Linked DNA regions of Homo sapiens: all the other regions are linked to region 3. The links are contacts of gene promoters, found by promoter capture Hi-C in blood cells and fetal thymus (Javierre and others, 2016). All regions are on one chromosome and are shown on one strand. The core of a region is centred on a gene start or on the middle of the fragment in contact, and the rest is flanking DNA. Distances in the headings are between cores, read along the strand shown.

Region 1 (4,469 bases), core at 456-2,955, 1.1 Mb before region 3:
TCCAGTTCACAGTGAGTGTGCTGGGCTGGGGGCAGGCTCATACGGGCTTGTAAGAGCTAATGGTCCAGGCATTTGGAGAGCCTGTTGTCATTATGTTGGTATATTAAAATGGGTCATGGTGGGAGTATTTACACCGTGGAAATTGACAGATGCTACAAATCAGGGTGTGGCCCACTGTGCCGCCAACTTGTTAAGAAAGCCAGCACTCCACTGGGCCAGAATAACGCCAAGGTTTCTGTTTTGTCGTTGTTTGATTCTTTCCCCCAAGCAACTGATGGAATAGATCATACCTTACACATATGAGAAAGATGGGGGTAAAATAAGTATAATAGATAAATAGATAAATAAATATCTCCCTATAAGTAGATATAGGGAGGGAGAATCAGGAGTTTGTCTTTGAATACATTTCATTTGAGATGCCTCTTAGACATCCAAGTGAAGTGGTGAGGAAGCAAGAGGATATAATTAAATGTAATAGTTGCAACTACTTCATGGGATTAATCCAAAGAACAAATAATACAATTTATTTTTAACTTATATGAAGTAAAAATTAATGTTAGTAAAGACCTTACAAATAGTAAGTGCTTAAAAACATGAATTTCTTCATTGCTGCAATGAGAAGGGAGCTTAAACCCTCAATCACCTTAATCATTTGCAAGGGTTGCAAACTGGTGGTCCTCAGTTTGGATTCAGCCAGTAGGCACTTTTTTTTTTTTGGAGGAGGGGATGCTATTTTTAAAAATTGAAATTATGGCCCGGGGCAGTGGCTCACACCTGTAATCCCACCACTTTGGGAGGCTGAGGCAGGCAGATCACTTGAGGTCAAGAGTTTGAGACTAGCCTGGCCAACATGGTGAAACCCCATCTCTATTAAAAATACAAAAATTAGCTGGGTGTGGTGGCACACGCCTGCAATCCCAACTACTCATGAGGCTGAGGCAGGAGAATCGCTTGAACCCAGGAATCGGAGGTTGCAGTGAGCTGAGATGGCACCACTGCACTCCAGCCTGGGTGACAGTGAGACTCTATCACAAAAAATAAAATAAAATAAAATAAAATAAAATAAAATGGAAATTGAATTTAAATGATTTTAGATAGGGTATGTACTTCCTAATTCATCGCAGACCCCTCCCCTCCATATAATCTCACAACAGCTCTAATTCCGGTATTTGTGTTGCCTGGCCCTTCATGATTTTGGATTTGCAACTACCCTTGATTCAAGGTAGCCCATCATCTTGCAGAGGAGGAATCTGAGGCCCAGAGATGCTAGGTGCTGGGTCCAGGGCTGCTGAGGGCATGGAGTATCAGGGCAGGGAGGAAGGAAACTGAGGGCCCTCTCTCCTGGTCAATGCTCAATCTACGATTGTGAAAATGTTCAGAAGAGAGAAAGCCTGCCCCCGCTGCAAGGGCTCCCTTCCTGATGCTAATGCCAGTGGCTTGGCTTTGGGGAAGCTTTAATTGCATGAGGTTCCCGGATCGGCTGCTCCATTGCATGCATGCTTAGTGGTAGAAATAAAACCCAATCTGGTGTCAGGCTGAAGGTTAATTGAATATTTGATGCCTAGAGATGATGAAAGTAAAGATTCCCATTTTCTTGTTTCCTCCTCTAGACCTCTGGCACCAAAGGGAGATGTGGGCCCGTCTTATTTAAGCAAAACCACCCATCTGGGAGGCTCCCTGTGAGGCCAGAAGAGGCAAGCCAAGCAGAAGAGAGGGGATTATAGATGACTTCATGGGGCCTGGGGCTGGGTGGGATCTTCTGCCAGAGAAGCCAAGAACTCAGGAGTAGGTCGTACCTTCTCTTGGCTGAAGACAGGTAGTTTTCCTGGTAACTTCTGGGGGAAGGAATTCATAAGCTGGAACCATAAATTTATTTTTATGGACAAGGACAAGGGGGCGACACAGAAGGCTTCCTAAAGGATGCAGCCTTAGAATAAAGTTTTCTATGTGAAGCTTCAGCTAAGAAGACCCCAGAGCTTCCCTTTGATCCATTCCCTCTGTAGTCTCTACCCACCTGCCATGCTTTGCTCCAGCCACATTAAACTTTATGTCATTAAGTGGGTCACACTCTTTCATTTCCAGGCTTTGTAGATGTTTTGCAGATGTTCTCATCATGTAGGTAGGACATTCTTCTTCCTTTCCTGTCCTGTCCTCCCTCCCTCCCTCCTTCTTTCTTCCTTTCTTTCTTTTCTTTCTTTCTTTTTCTTTCTTTCTTTCTTTCTTCTTTCTTTCTCTTTCTTTCTTTCTTTCTTTCCTTCTTCTTTCTCTCTCTCTCTTTCTTTTCTTTCTTTCTTTTTTCAGAGTCTCACTCTGTCACCCAGGCTTAAGTGTAGAGGCATGATCTTGGCTTACTGCAATCTCCACCTCCCGGGTTCAGGTGATTCTCTTGCCTCAGCCTCCCAAATAGCTGAGATTACAGGCACCCACCACCACGCCTGGCTAATTTTTGTATTTTTAGTAGAGGCGGTGTTTCACCATGTTGGCTGGGCTGGTCTTGAACTCCTGACCTCAAATGATCCACCCACCTCAGCCTCCCAAAGTGCTGGGATTACAAGCCTGAGCCACCATGCCTGGCCAGGACATTCTTCTTTTCCCCTCGTCACCTGCCTACCTTCTCTTTCATGCTATTATAGAAGCTACTTCCTCCTGGAAGCCCTCCTGATTTCACTCAGGTGCCCTCACCTGCCTGTCACTGCTCCTTTCACACTGCATTTACTTTCTTACCTGCCTCACCTGCTAGGCATGCAGGGTGAGGACTGCCCTGTTTTTCTCACAACTGTATCTTCAGTGCTAAGCCTACTGCTGGCACACGGTAGGTACACAATAATTTTTTCCCTAGAGTTAAGAGAGACAATCCATTCCATTCTTTCCAATATGAATTTTACCACTGAAGGAACAACCATTAGAACCTTTCCAGCACATAAAATTGTGCTTGGTTGATAGTAGACACTCAAACAGTTCGGTTGGAATGAATGAATAAGCATCTTATTCCAGACTCTAGAAGTCAGAGAGAAAGGAATGGGGGGAAGAGGATGAGGTCTATTTAATTCAATTTGAATTTTTATTTTTTTTTGAGACAGAGTCTTACTCTGTTGCCCAGGCTGAAGTAGTGGTGCAATCATGGCTCACTGCAGCCTGGAACTCCAGGGCTCAAGTAATTGTCCCACCTGAGCCTCCCAAGTAGCTGGGACTACAGGTGCCACCATGCCTGGCTAGTTTTTTTAATTGTTTGTAAAGATGGGGTCTCACTATGTTGCCTAGGCTGGTCTCGAACTCCTGGCCCCAAGTGATTCTCCTACCTCAGCCTCCCAAAGTGTTGAGATTACAGGTGTGAGCTACCGTGCCCAGATGAGGATGAGCTTTATTGAGGAGTGAGGCAATGGGCTAGGAACGCGTAAAATCTGCCTCCAGCAGCCACAAAGCACTGATGTTCCAAGACCCCCATTACAGGAGAGAAAAATTGAGGTCCAGAGAGAGGCGAGAACAGGTGAGCCCAGCCCAAAGTCACATGGGAAGGAGGTGGAATTCTTTCTTAGATTGGCCTGGCCCCAAGTCCACAAGGGGCAGCTATTCAAGCTGTGTAAGTCTCTGACTCCACTGGAGAAGGAGGTTCTGGGACAGCCTCTGGGGACACTTCTTTTTTTTTTGAGACAAGGTCTTACTCTGTCACCCAGGCTGGAGTGCAGTGGCATGATCATGGCTCACTGCAGCCTCAATTTCCCAGGCTCAAGAGATCCTCCCATCTCAGCCTCCCAAGTAGCTGGTACCACAGGCGTGTGCCACCACATCCAGCTAATTTTTATTTTTTTGAAGAGACAGGATGCCTCTATGTTGTTGGGACTGGTCTCAAACTCCTGGTCTCAAGCAATCCTCCTGCCTCAACCTCCCGAAGTGTTGGGGTTGTAGGCATGAGCCACCGCACCCAGACTAAGGACACTTGCTGTGTCTAAGGAACAGCCTCAAAAGCCGGTCACTAATAATTTGAAAATAATTTCTCTTTCTCTTGCAAGGTTCCTCTGTAGAGCCAGAGAACTGTGAGTGCTGCTTCCCCAGGCTGCTGGGTTTCAGCACTCTCTCCGCCCCCAACCACCCTCCCGTCTGCCACCTGGGTCTGTCAGGAACCCTGTATTCTGCTTTCTCCAGGCACCACCGTCTGTCTTTGTCCACTTCTCACCCCCATCTCACATGGGGCAGTGGAAAGAGCATGACTGAGAAGCCACAGAAGCCTGAATTTCAGCCCCGCTGCTCGCTGGCTTTCTGGGTGGCCTCCCTGCACCTCTGCTGCCTTCTCAGACAGTGGGGTTAATGACCTCCCAGGGGGGGTTCTCTGTGAGAATTACCTAAGATAGAAATGCTTAGAGCAGTCACTTTTGCATCTGGCCCAGAGTAGCTGCTTCCCTGCAAGTGTCACCCTCTTGGGGAGCTAGCGGGGAACATTCTGGATGGAGAATCTAATGGTTACCCCCTGT
Region 2 (4,543 bases), core at 1,086-3,585, 1.1 Mb before region 3:
CGATCTCCTGACCTCGTAATCTGCCCGCCTCAGCCTCCCAAAGTGCTAGGATTACAGGCATGAGCCACTGCGCCCGGCCGAGATGGACAATTCTTTAAGTGAACGGGGAGAAAGAACCAAAGACATGGAATCTTGCTCCAACCACAGGGTCTTTTGTGGTAGTGGTGGTGGCAGAGGGCTGGGTAGGATGAATTCTCCTTTTCTCTGCTCCATCCTGGAAATCAAGATGCCAGTCTAATTCCTGGGAAGTGCAAGCACGTTTCCTAATCACTGGCCGAATCCTGCCCATTGAAATTCTTGGGGTGCAACCACTCACCCATTCTTCTAGATGTCAAAGGATGTTAGGTCTTAATTACCCTCTGTGTCTCCCAGGTTCTCCGCTGCTGCCCAAAATATTGGGGGTGGAGGAAGCTTTGGAGCTAGGGATGAGGAAGCATGGATTGGAGCTCGGCTCTGCCCCGATGAGCAACCCTTCATCCTTGCTTGTCCAGGGTTTCTTCTGCTGGAACACGACAGGGCTGGACCAGTTCCTCTGTTAGTGCAAGTCTCTTCTGGGACTGGAATCAGTGGGACTTCATGGTGTCCCAGTCCTCTGACATCTGGGAATGTTGGTAGTTCGGACTAGAGTGGTGGCCGTAGAAAGACGGGGACATGTGTTTGGATTTGAGACATATTGAAAAGTGGAGTTGAGAGGATGGATTGGATATGGGGGCAAGGAAGGAGGAAGCAGCCTGAGAAACCAGGAGAGTTGTTGTCTCATTTCCTAGGATTGGCAGATAGCAGGGGATGCTGTTGGGTAGTGGTGGTGGTGGGTAGGAAAAGAAATCATTCTGTTTGGCCATGTTAAATCTGAGATGTCTACTGGATGGAGGCAAGGGAGGAGTTGGCAGGGAGTTGGATAGATGGATTTGGAGTTTAAGGTCAAGGTTGTAAGTATGAACCGGTCAACGGATATTGGTACTGTTTAAATCCATGGGAACTAATGAAGGCATGGAGGGCGTGAGTCTAGCTGGAAGAGAGGATACAGTCCAGGATGGAGCCTGGGACCCTCCAGGGTTTAAAGGTTGAAAAGGGGTGGGTCGTAGAGCTAGTAATGAATGAGGGAGAGTTACAGGGTGGGGAATGAGAAGGGAAGAGTGTGATTGGATGAAAGCACACGAGGGGTCATAGGAGTGTGTGAGCTTAGCTTGAATTTGATAGCAGGTTTTTTTTTTGTTTTGTTTGTTTTAGGAGGAGCAGGAGAGACATGGTTTGGAGGCCACATTGAGGATGAGGAAAGACATCTTTTGCATCTATAGCTCCTAAAGTACAAGAAGTGCGAAAGGAAGGCTGTCCTTGTTCAACGAGGCTACAGGAAAAGAAGAGGCCTTAGAGGAGAGCTGAGCTTCAGTTCGGGCAAGAAGGTGAAGACGATGTTTGAGAAGTTGCACAAATTGGGAAGAAATTAGGAAGTATGTTGATGTAAGATCTCAGCTGACCACAAATGAAACATGGGGACAACAGGTTCTCAGCTGACCACACATGAAACATAAGTTATGAGGCATTGTCTACTACATCCTGATATCAACCTTGTGGAATAGGTATCACTATGCCCATCTTACAGATGACAAAAAGAAGGCTCAGAGAGGTTCAGTAACTTTCCCAAAGCCACACAGACATCGATGACCGTGCTAGGGCTCAAACCCTGGTCCTCATGACTAGAGAGCCCAGGCTTTTAAAAATGAAATGAGTACATTTCAATACAATACAATGAAAAATCGCTGTAGTACAAAACTGCCAAATAACCTAGAGGAAACCACCTTAACCTGTATCTAAACACAAAGAAAAAATAAATTGACCAGATGAGACACCTACCTATGTAGTTCATGATAAATCCCTGGCCCTTTCCAAAGATGAGGCCAGCAGGGTCCGAATGGAACTGGATGGTTAAGTCTGGCGTGGAGGAGTACAGTTTCTGGGGGCCACTGTTCCCAAGGTACTGCCCCAAGATGTGGGGCATGACCTCGTCGCCATCGTAGATGGTCAAGATGTCACTGTTGCTCAGATTCAGGCTTGGAGGGCAGAGAAGAGGGAGAGTCATGTGAAATAGAGAATGGGCATTCAATAAACCCTTGATTAACTTTTTCAGGCAATACAAAATTTGTTAAGTGTGTATGTGTCAGGCTCCAGGCTATGTGTCTTAACCCCAAGCTGAGGGTAAGATTGACATAGACTGCAAATGTGACACAAAGATTTGTAAGTCATTTTTTTTTTGAGACAGAGTCTCACTCTGTCACCCAGGCTAGAGTGCAGTGGCACTCTCAGCTCGCTGCAATCTCTGCCTTCCAGGTTCAAGCAATTCTCCTGTCTCAGCCTCCCGAGTAGCTGGGACTACAGGTGCATGCTGCTATGTCTGGCTAATTTTTTTTGTATTTAGTAGAGATGGGGTTTCACCGTGTTGCCCAGGCTGGTCTCCAAATCCTGAGCTCAGGCAATCTGCCCACCTCGGCCTCCCAATGTGCTAGGATTACAGGCGTGAGTCACTGTGCCCGGCCGTCAGTTGGGTTTTTGAAGACACATTGATGCAATGGTCTTGGCTGCATGGGACTCATTGCAAAGTCAAATGCTGCATTGTAAGAAGAATCACCTTCAAAACTCCCATTATTGGCAACCATTTCTTAGGTGACATCTCTGTGTTAGGCACCAGGCTACAGGCTGGGGCTATGACCTGCATCTTTCATTCTTCTTCAGTGCAGAACATGCTGACAGCTTGCTAATTACAACTTGCATTTTTATATAAGGTGAAATGATCTTTCCATTTATCACGGGGCAAATTCCTCAGAGTCAACTGAATGATCCATTATGTTTAAGGGGTAGGGCAGAGGTGGGATGGAGGCACCTTACTTATGAGATATGCTCAAACCTGTCACCATTCATACTGTTAAAGGATGACACATTTTCAAAGACTCCAATGCAAGAAAGTACCTTGACACTAAATAATTAAACCACAGTGGATAGTTAATAATCCAGAAATCACTTCACTATACCACAGAAACATGTGCCATCTCAGACATGCTAGATAAAATTGATCTCTAATTGAAAGAATGCCAGATAATTCACCTTTGGCTTCATCAATCATGGACAGATACAAACTCACATTTCTTTCTTTCCTTTCTTCTTTCCCTCTCTCTGTCTTCTTTCTCTCTCATGTCTTTCTCCTTTTCTTGTCTCCTTCTCCTTAATGTTCTTTTTTGTTTGTTTTTTTGAGCATCTACTATGAGCCAGGCACTGTGCTGAGCTCAGAAGGGTCACAGAGTAGTGATCTATTTAGATTTGTAAGCCAGGGATTGTGGCAGGAGTTATAACCAAAGTAAGGACAGAGAAAGTAAGGACAAACTCAGATTAGGGGCATCATGGAAGCATTCCTGCAGTAGGTGATGCTTCTTGCTCTGAAACCTCAAGAAAGAGTAGGAGACCTCGAGGCAGATAAACACAGAGTAGGGAGTCCAGGTGCAGTGGCTTACACCTGTAATCCCAGCACTTTTGGAGGCTGAGGTGGGAGGATTGCTTGAGGCCAGGAGTTCAAGACCATTCTGGGCAACAAAGAGAGACCCTGTCTCTACAAAAAAAAAAAAAAAAAGAAAAAAAAAAAGTCCGGGCGTGGTGGCTCACGCCTATAATCCCAGCACTTTGGGAGGCCGAGGCAGGAGGATCACGAGGTCAAGAAATCGAAACCATTCTGGCCAACATGGTGAAACCCCGTCTCTACTAAAAAAAGAAATTAGCTGGGCGTGGTGGCAGATGCCTGTAGTTCCAGCTACTCGGGAGGCTGAGGCAGGAGAATTGCTTGAACCTGGGAGGTGGAGGTTGAAGTGAGCTGAGATTGTGCCACTGCACTCCAGCCTGGGCAAAGAAGCGAGACCCTGTCTCAAAAAAAATTTTTTTTTTTTGGTGTGGTGGTGCACCTCTGTAGTCCTAGCTTCTCAGGAGGCTGAGGCAGGAGGATTGCTTGAGCCCAGAAGTTTGAGGCTACAGTGAGCTATGATTGTGCCACTGTACTCCAGCCTGGGCAATAGAGCAAGAACTCATCTCACAAAACAAAACAAAACAAAAGAAAACAATGAATGATGGGGAGAAGGCAGAGGGAAGAAAGGAGTAAGACCATGGTTCCTGAAAGAATTTTTCCAGTGGTCAGTGTGCCTGGGGTATGGGGATAGGCATAGAAGCCTGCAGAGTTCTGCAGGGATTAGATCATGAAGGGCTTAAAGAGCCAAGCTTCAACTTTTGGACATCATCTTGCAGGAGACGGGGAGACACTGAAGGGTTTTATACGGGAACTGTATGACTGAGCAATTCAATGCCAGAGGAGAGGTGTTCTGGGAAATGGCCCTGAGCAGAGTTCCTGAAACTGATGCAGACTGACAGTGGCCCTCCCTGCTGATAGCTTCATCCAATGGCCAACAGTGGTGTTTGCTGCTAGTCCGGGAGTTGGGAGGTGAGGTGGCAACTACCCATGTTGGTGTTTCAGGTGGTCAGAACAAAACAACAGAAACACAAAGAAAGG
Region 3 (4,519 bases), core at 1,332-3,831:
TGGCCCAGGAGGCACTGAGTCAGACAAAGGGGCCATTCCTGAAGGAACCTGTGCCCGGGGCTACCAAAGCAGGGAGGCACAGGAGGGCAGTCAGGTGGCCGTGCCTAGATAGAGGTTTGAGGGCAGACTGGGTGTGACAAGCCTCTGACGTTGGGATAAGATCCTGCCGCCCTTGGGTGGACAGGTGGATGAGAAATCAAAGGCGGCATTATTTGCTGGTGTTAGGTGGATGCGCACCCCAGGCCGGGTGTTAGGCTGAGCCTGGTTTCTTTGGCTCTCACAACTTCCCTGTGCAATAAATCTGACTCCTCCTTTTATAGAGATGGAACTGAGGCTCAGAGGGATCAAATAATTGGCCCGGATCACACAGCAGGTGCAGAGCCAGGACTCACACCCACCTTCCATCTACTAATCCCATCTCTGACTGAGAATGAGGGTCTGCTCCAGTTTCAGGGAGCCCTGTAGACAATAGGGTGTGGCAAAACAGGTAAGGGAGAGAGAAACTGAAGTCTCCAAAGCCAGAGGCTGGTACTGGGAATCCCAGCATGCCAGCTATGGGCTGGGGAGGGACTTTCAGTATCAGCTCCAACTGTGTGGGTAGAGGAGACTGAGTCCCAGAGAGGGGCAGGGGTCGAGAGGGGGTACCCATGAAGAAAGATGCCAAGCCCATTTTACAGAAGGGCAACTAAGTCTGGGGGAGGAGCATTGCATGCCCCCTCCTCTGAGAGGTACCCACCTTGGGGTTGAGGGACTGTGGCTTGCCCGCCTGGGTCTGGTGATCTGAGGCCATGGTGGACTGTCCTGTGCAGGAATGACCTGGAAGACATGGGAAGCAGCAGTGAGGACCTGGAGGGGCCACTGGCTTTTTCACTCTGTGGGGCCTTGAGACCACTCCCCTCTGGCCCCAAACATTCTCTTTTTCTCCTGGTTTCAGACTGTCCCAGAGCTGTGGGGTCCGTAAGCAGCTACTTCAACTTCTGTCCTTAGCTTCATTTATTTCTATCCAGGCCAGCTGCAGGAGGAGGGAAAAACGAGGTCTACTCAAAGAAAGAGAGCAGTAATAAACTAGAGCTTAAATGAGGTCCAAAGTGGGTTCCCAACACTCAACCCCAGACAATGGATACCACACAGAATATAGAATGGTCAATCCCAGAACTTCTGCCTTTATGCAGTAATTTCTTAAATAAAATTGTGTGGAACAAACAAAACCTATGCATTGGCTGTATTTGGTGGTGTGGTGGTGCCCAGTTTAGGAACTCACAAAGTTCCCTGTTCCCCTGCTCCTTCTCCCACCCTCTCCCTGGGACTCCTCTCCCCATCCTGGTACCTAGATTTCTCTTCTCTGCCACTGGTTTTACTCCCCCATTAGTGAAATCATCTGATACAGAACCCACATTACAAGAAAGAGAAGAAATGGGTGCGACGGTAGAAATCCAGGCACTGTGGCAGGCAGCAGGGTAGACCTGCCTTAGCTAGTGAGAACATCAGAAAAGCCTGGAAAATTGTCAGCCTCTTCCCCCTTCCTGCAGAAGGGGTGGTCAAACCAGGCTGTGTTTCCCCAGGGGTAAGAGAGGAAGCCTGGCCTCCCTCTTCAGAGATAACGCCAGCTTCCAGAAGCCCCTTCCACATGAAAGGCCAATACTGGATGTTTCCCAGGAGGAAGAAATGCAGTTAAGCACCTTGGCAGCCAAATCTACTGCTCTCCCGCAAGAAACCAGCCCTCTGGGCTTGTCAGAGTGCCTGAGGTCCTGCCATATCACTTCCCAGTCCTGAGTGTTCACAGACTGAAGAAGCTCAGTTGGTCCAGTTCAGGAGCAGTCTCTGCTGCCTGCCAGAATTGAGACTCTGGGCAGGTCTCATCCTCTCCCTATGCCTCAACTTCCTGTTCTATAAAATGGGGACAGTAATGATGTCTAATAATACCTGTGAACAGGTTGTGAGGATTCAATTATGTAATGTATAAAACCGGAAGCACTTGGCCGTGGTCCCAGAACACACTCAGCATGCAGCAAATGGCAGCAATTGTGGCATTATTAGAGTCATTTCTACCATGCTTTAGTGGCATTGAAATCACCTGTTGCTGGGACCTGTCACATACCTGTGGCTGCATCCTATCCCCTAGCACTCCCAGAGGCTAGGCACAGAGTGGGTGCCCCCTAATTGCAGATGTGGAGGAAAACTGACTCACCCACCTAGAAACAATGCTGAACTGTCACTGGTTTGATTCTTGCAAAACCCTCAGTTACATTCTCCTCCTCAGCGACTGGCGAAACAAGGATGCTGATAGTCTGTTTAATATTAATAATAAAGAACATTGCCCCAATGCCCACTGTGTGCCAGGCACTGTGCTGGATGATCCCCTAACTTCTCTTGAATCCTTACAATAAAGAAGGCTTTTTAACCCCCTTCCCAGTTACCAGAAAAGAAAACTGAGGCTAACAGCATTGAAGTCTCTGCCCAAAGTCACTTGTCAGAATCTGGGTGCTCCCATGCTTGCGGACAGGGGTGAGGATGAGAGAAAGAAGGGAAGACAAGCAAGAGAGGCAATCTTACCAGTGACACCAGCCCCTGCGAGTGCCGTGAAGCTCGGCCAGCGGGAGGTGGCATTTATACCTTCCCCAGAAGTGCCGGTGCCAAGATGAGTGACCGCTGTGCTCCTGCGAAAAGCAGGGTGAGAATGCTGGATTAAGCTCTCACCAAAGCTCGGGTCAGCAAATGCCCACAGACATTGTGTCTCTGCACAATAATGTCATTAGCTTTCAGATTCGGCCGCGCCAGGGCGGTCAGGCGGCTGGGCAAGGAGATGCCCGCTTTGCATGCATCAGCCGTCCGGCTGCCAGGGCCAGGGGTACGCTGGGTTCACTGGTACGGTCAGTCAGGCCGTGAGGCATGGCAGACAGAGGAACATCTCAGTGGGCCTGGGGAAGAACAAGTAAAGAAGGGTGGTTTGGCAGAGTCTGGGCTTCATTCATCTACCCATTTATTCATTCAACAAATATTTGTTGGGCATCCACTTGGTGACAATCTCTGTTCCAGGGGAGTGTCAGGAAGAGGACCTACGCCAGCCCAGGCCATTCAGAAAAGCTCCTGGGAGGTAGCGCATCCCTCAGGGATGGAGAAGAGGAAGCCTGGGAACAGGGTGGGGGGACAGTTCCAAGCAGAAAGGGTCCATATACAAGGAACCAGCATGGTGTATTTCAAGAAGACCTGAAAACAGGTTAACAAAGCTAAAGCATGACATGTGACAAATAGGGCCTGTGCCAGGTGGCCAAGGTGGGCAGGGCCTGATGTTGCAGGGCCAGGGAGGCCAATTATGGAGAGTGCATTTTATTCTCAAGGCCCCTGGCTGTTTCTCTTTCTTTTCTTTCTTTCTTTCTTTCTCTTTCTTTCTTTCTTTCTTTCTTTCTTTCTTTCTTTCTTTCTTTCTTTCTTTCTTTCTTCTCTCTCTCTCTCTCTCTCTCTCTCTCTCTCTCTCTCTCTCTCCCCTCTCTCTCTCTCTCTCTCTCTCTCTCCCCCTCTCTCTCTCTCTTTCTTTCTTTCTCTTTCTTTCTTTTGAGATGGAATCTCACTCTGTCACCCAGGCTGGAGTGCAGTGGTGTGATCTCGGCTCACTGCAACCTCTGCCTCCCAGGTTCAAGCGATTCTCCTGCCTCAGCCTCACCAGTAGCTGGGACTACAGGTGTGCGCCACCAGGTCCAGCTAAATTCTTTTTTTTGCTGTATCTTGTTAGAGACAGGGTTTTGACATGTTGCCCAGGGTGGTCTCAAACTCCTGAGCTCAGGCAATCCATCCACCTTGGCCTCCTAAAGTGCTGGGATTCCAGGCATGAGCCACTGCACCCGGCCTGTTTCTTAACCACTGTCCTAGAGTGAGTTGCTCTTAGATCCCTACCACTGGCCCCATCGCTGCCACATGGGTGCCCAGCCTTTACTCACATTTCTTTTCTATTTTTTTTTTTTTTGAGATGGAGTCTCGCTCTGTCGCCCAGGCTGGAGTGCAGTGGCACGATCTCAGCTCACTGCAAGCTCTGCCTCCCGTGTTCACACCATTCTCCTCCTTCAGCCTCCCTAGTAGCTGGGACTACAGGCGCCCGCCAACACGCCCGGCTAATTTTTTGTATTTTTAGTAGAGACGGTGTTTCACTGTGTTAGCCAGGATGGTCTCGATCTCCTGACCTCATTATCCGCCCGTCTCGGCCTCCCAAAGTGCTGGGATTACAGGCGTGAGCCACCGCGCCCGGCCTTTACTCATGTTTCTTTAGTGCACACACCTTCCTTGCAGCCCAGGCTGTGTCTTGATCCAATCTGAGGCTTGGAGACTGGGTCAAGTATACCTGCTTTCCCCTGTCTCTCATTTTCTTAATGCACATATGCATGCACACGCATGCACACACACTACACACACATGCCCCAGCCCCCTAGCTGGGCTTTTCCTTTTGCAGCACTCATCACTACCCAACATTCTGTTACTCATTTATTTTCTGTCTTTCCAATGAGAAGATAAGCACCACAAAAGCAAA

Evidence for each region. The method cuts DNA at HindIII sites, captures the fragments that hold promoters and counts their contacts. A CHiCAGO score of 5 or more calls a contact.
Region 1: a fragment that was not itself captured here is called in contact with the fragment with the promoter of CRYBB2 in region 3 in 1 of 17 cell types (M2 macrophages); the score reaches 5.3 in M2 macrophages.
Region 2: a contact is called between a fragment that was not itself captured here and the fragment with the promoter of CRYBB2 in region 3, in 1 of 17 cell types (M2 macrophages). The highest score is 7.8, in M2 macrophages.

What each region holds. Positions count from the first base shown.
Region 1 is chr22:26,314,657-26,319,125 of GRCh38, reverse strand. The region is part of intron 9 of SEZ6L (seizure related 6 homolog like); the gene reads right to left. Among named protein-coding and RNA genes, the nearest start is that of SEZ6L-AS1, 70 kb to the right of the region's middle. The HindIII fragment of the contact is 501 bases long and covers 1,455-1,955 here.
Region 2 is chr22:26,337,944-26,342,486 of GRCh38, reverse strand. SEZ6L (seizure related 6 homolog like) reads right to left here. Exons shown (of 17, transcript NM_021115.5): 10 at 1,855-2,051. Among named protein-coding and RNA genes, the nearest start is that of ASPHD2, 89 kb to the left of the region's middle. The HindIII fragment of the contact is 3,843 bases long and covers 414-4,256 here.
Region 3 is chr22:25,217,701-25,222,219 of GRCh38, reverse strand. It overlaps CRYBB2 (crystallin beta B2), which reads right to left and starts at 2,581. Exons shown (of 6, transcript NM_000496.3): 1 at 2,554-2,581; 2 at 737-816. The coding sequence starts at 790. The HindIII fragment of the contact is 9,715 bases long and covers 1-4,519 here.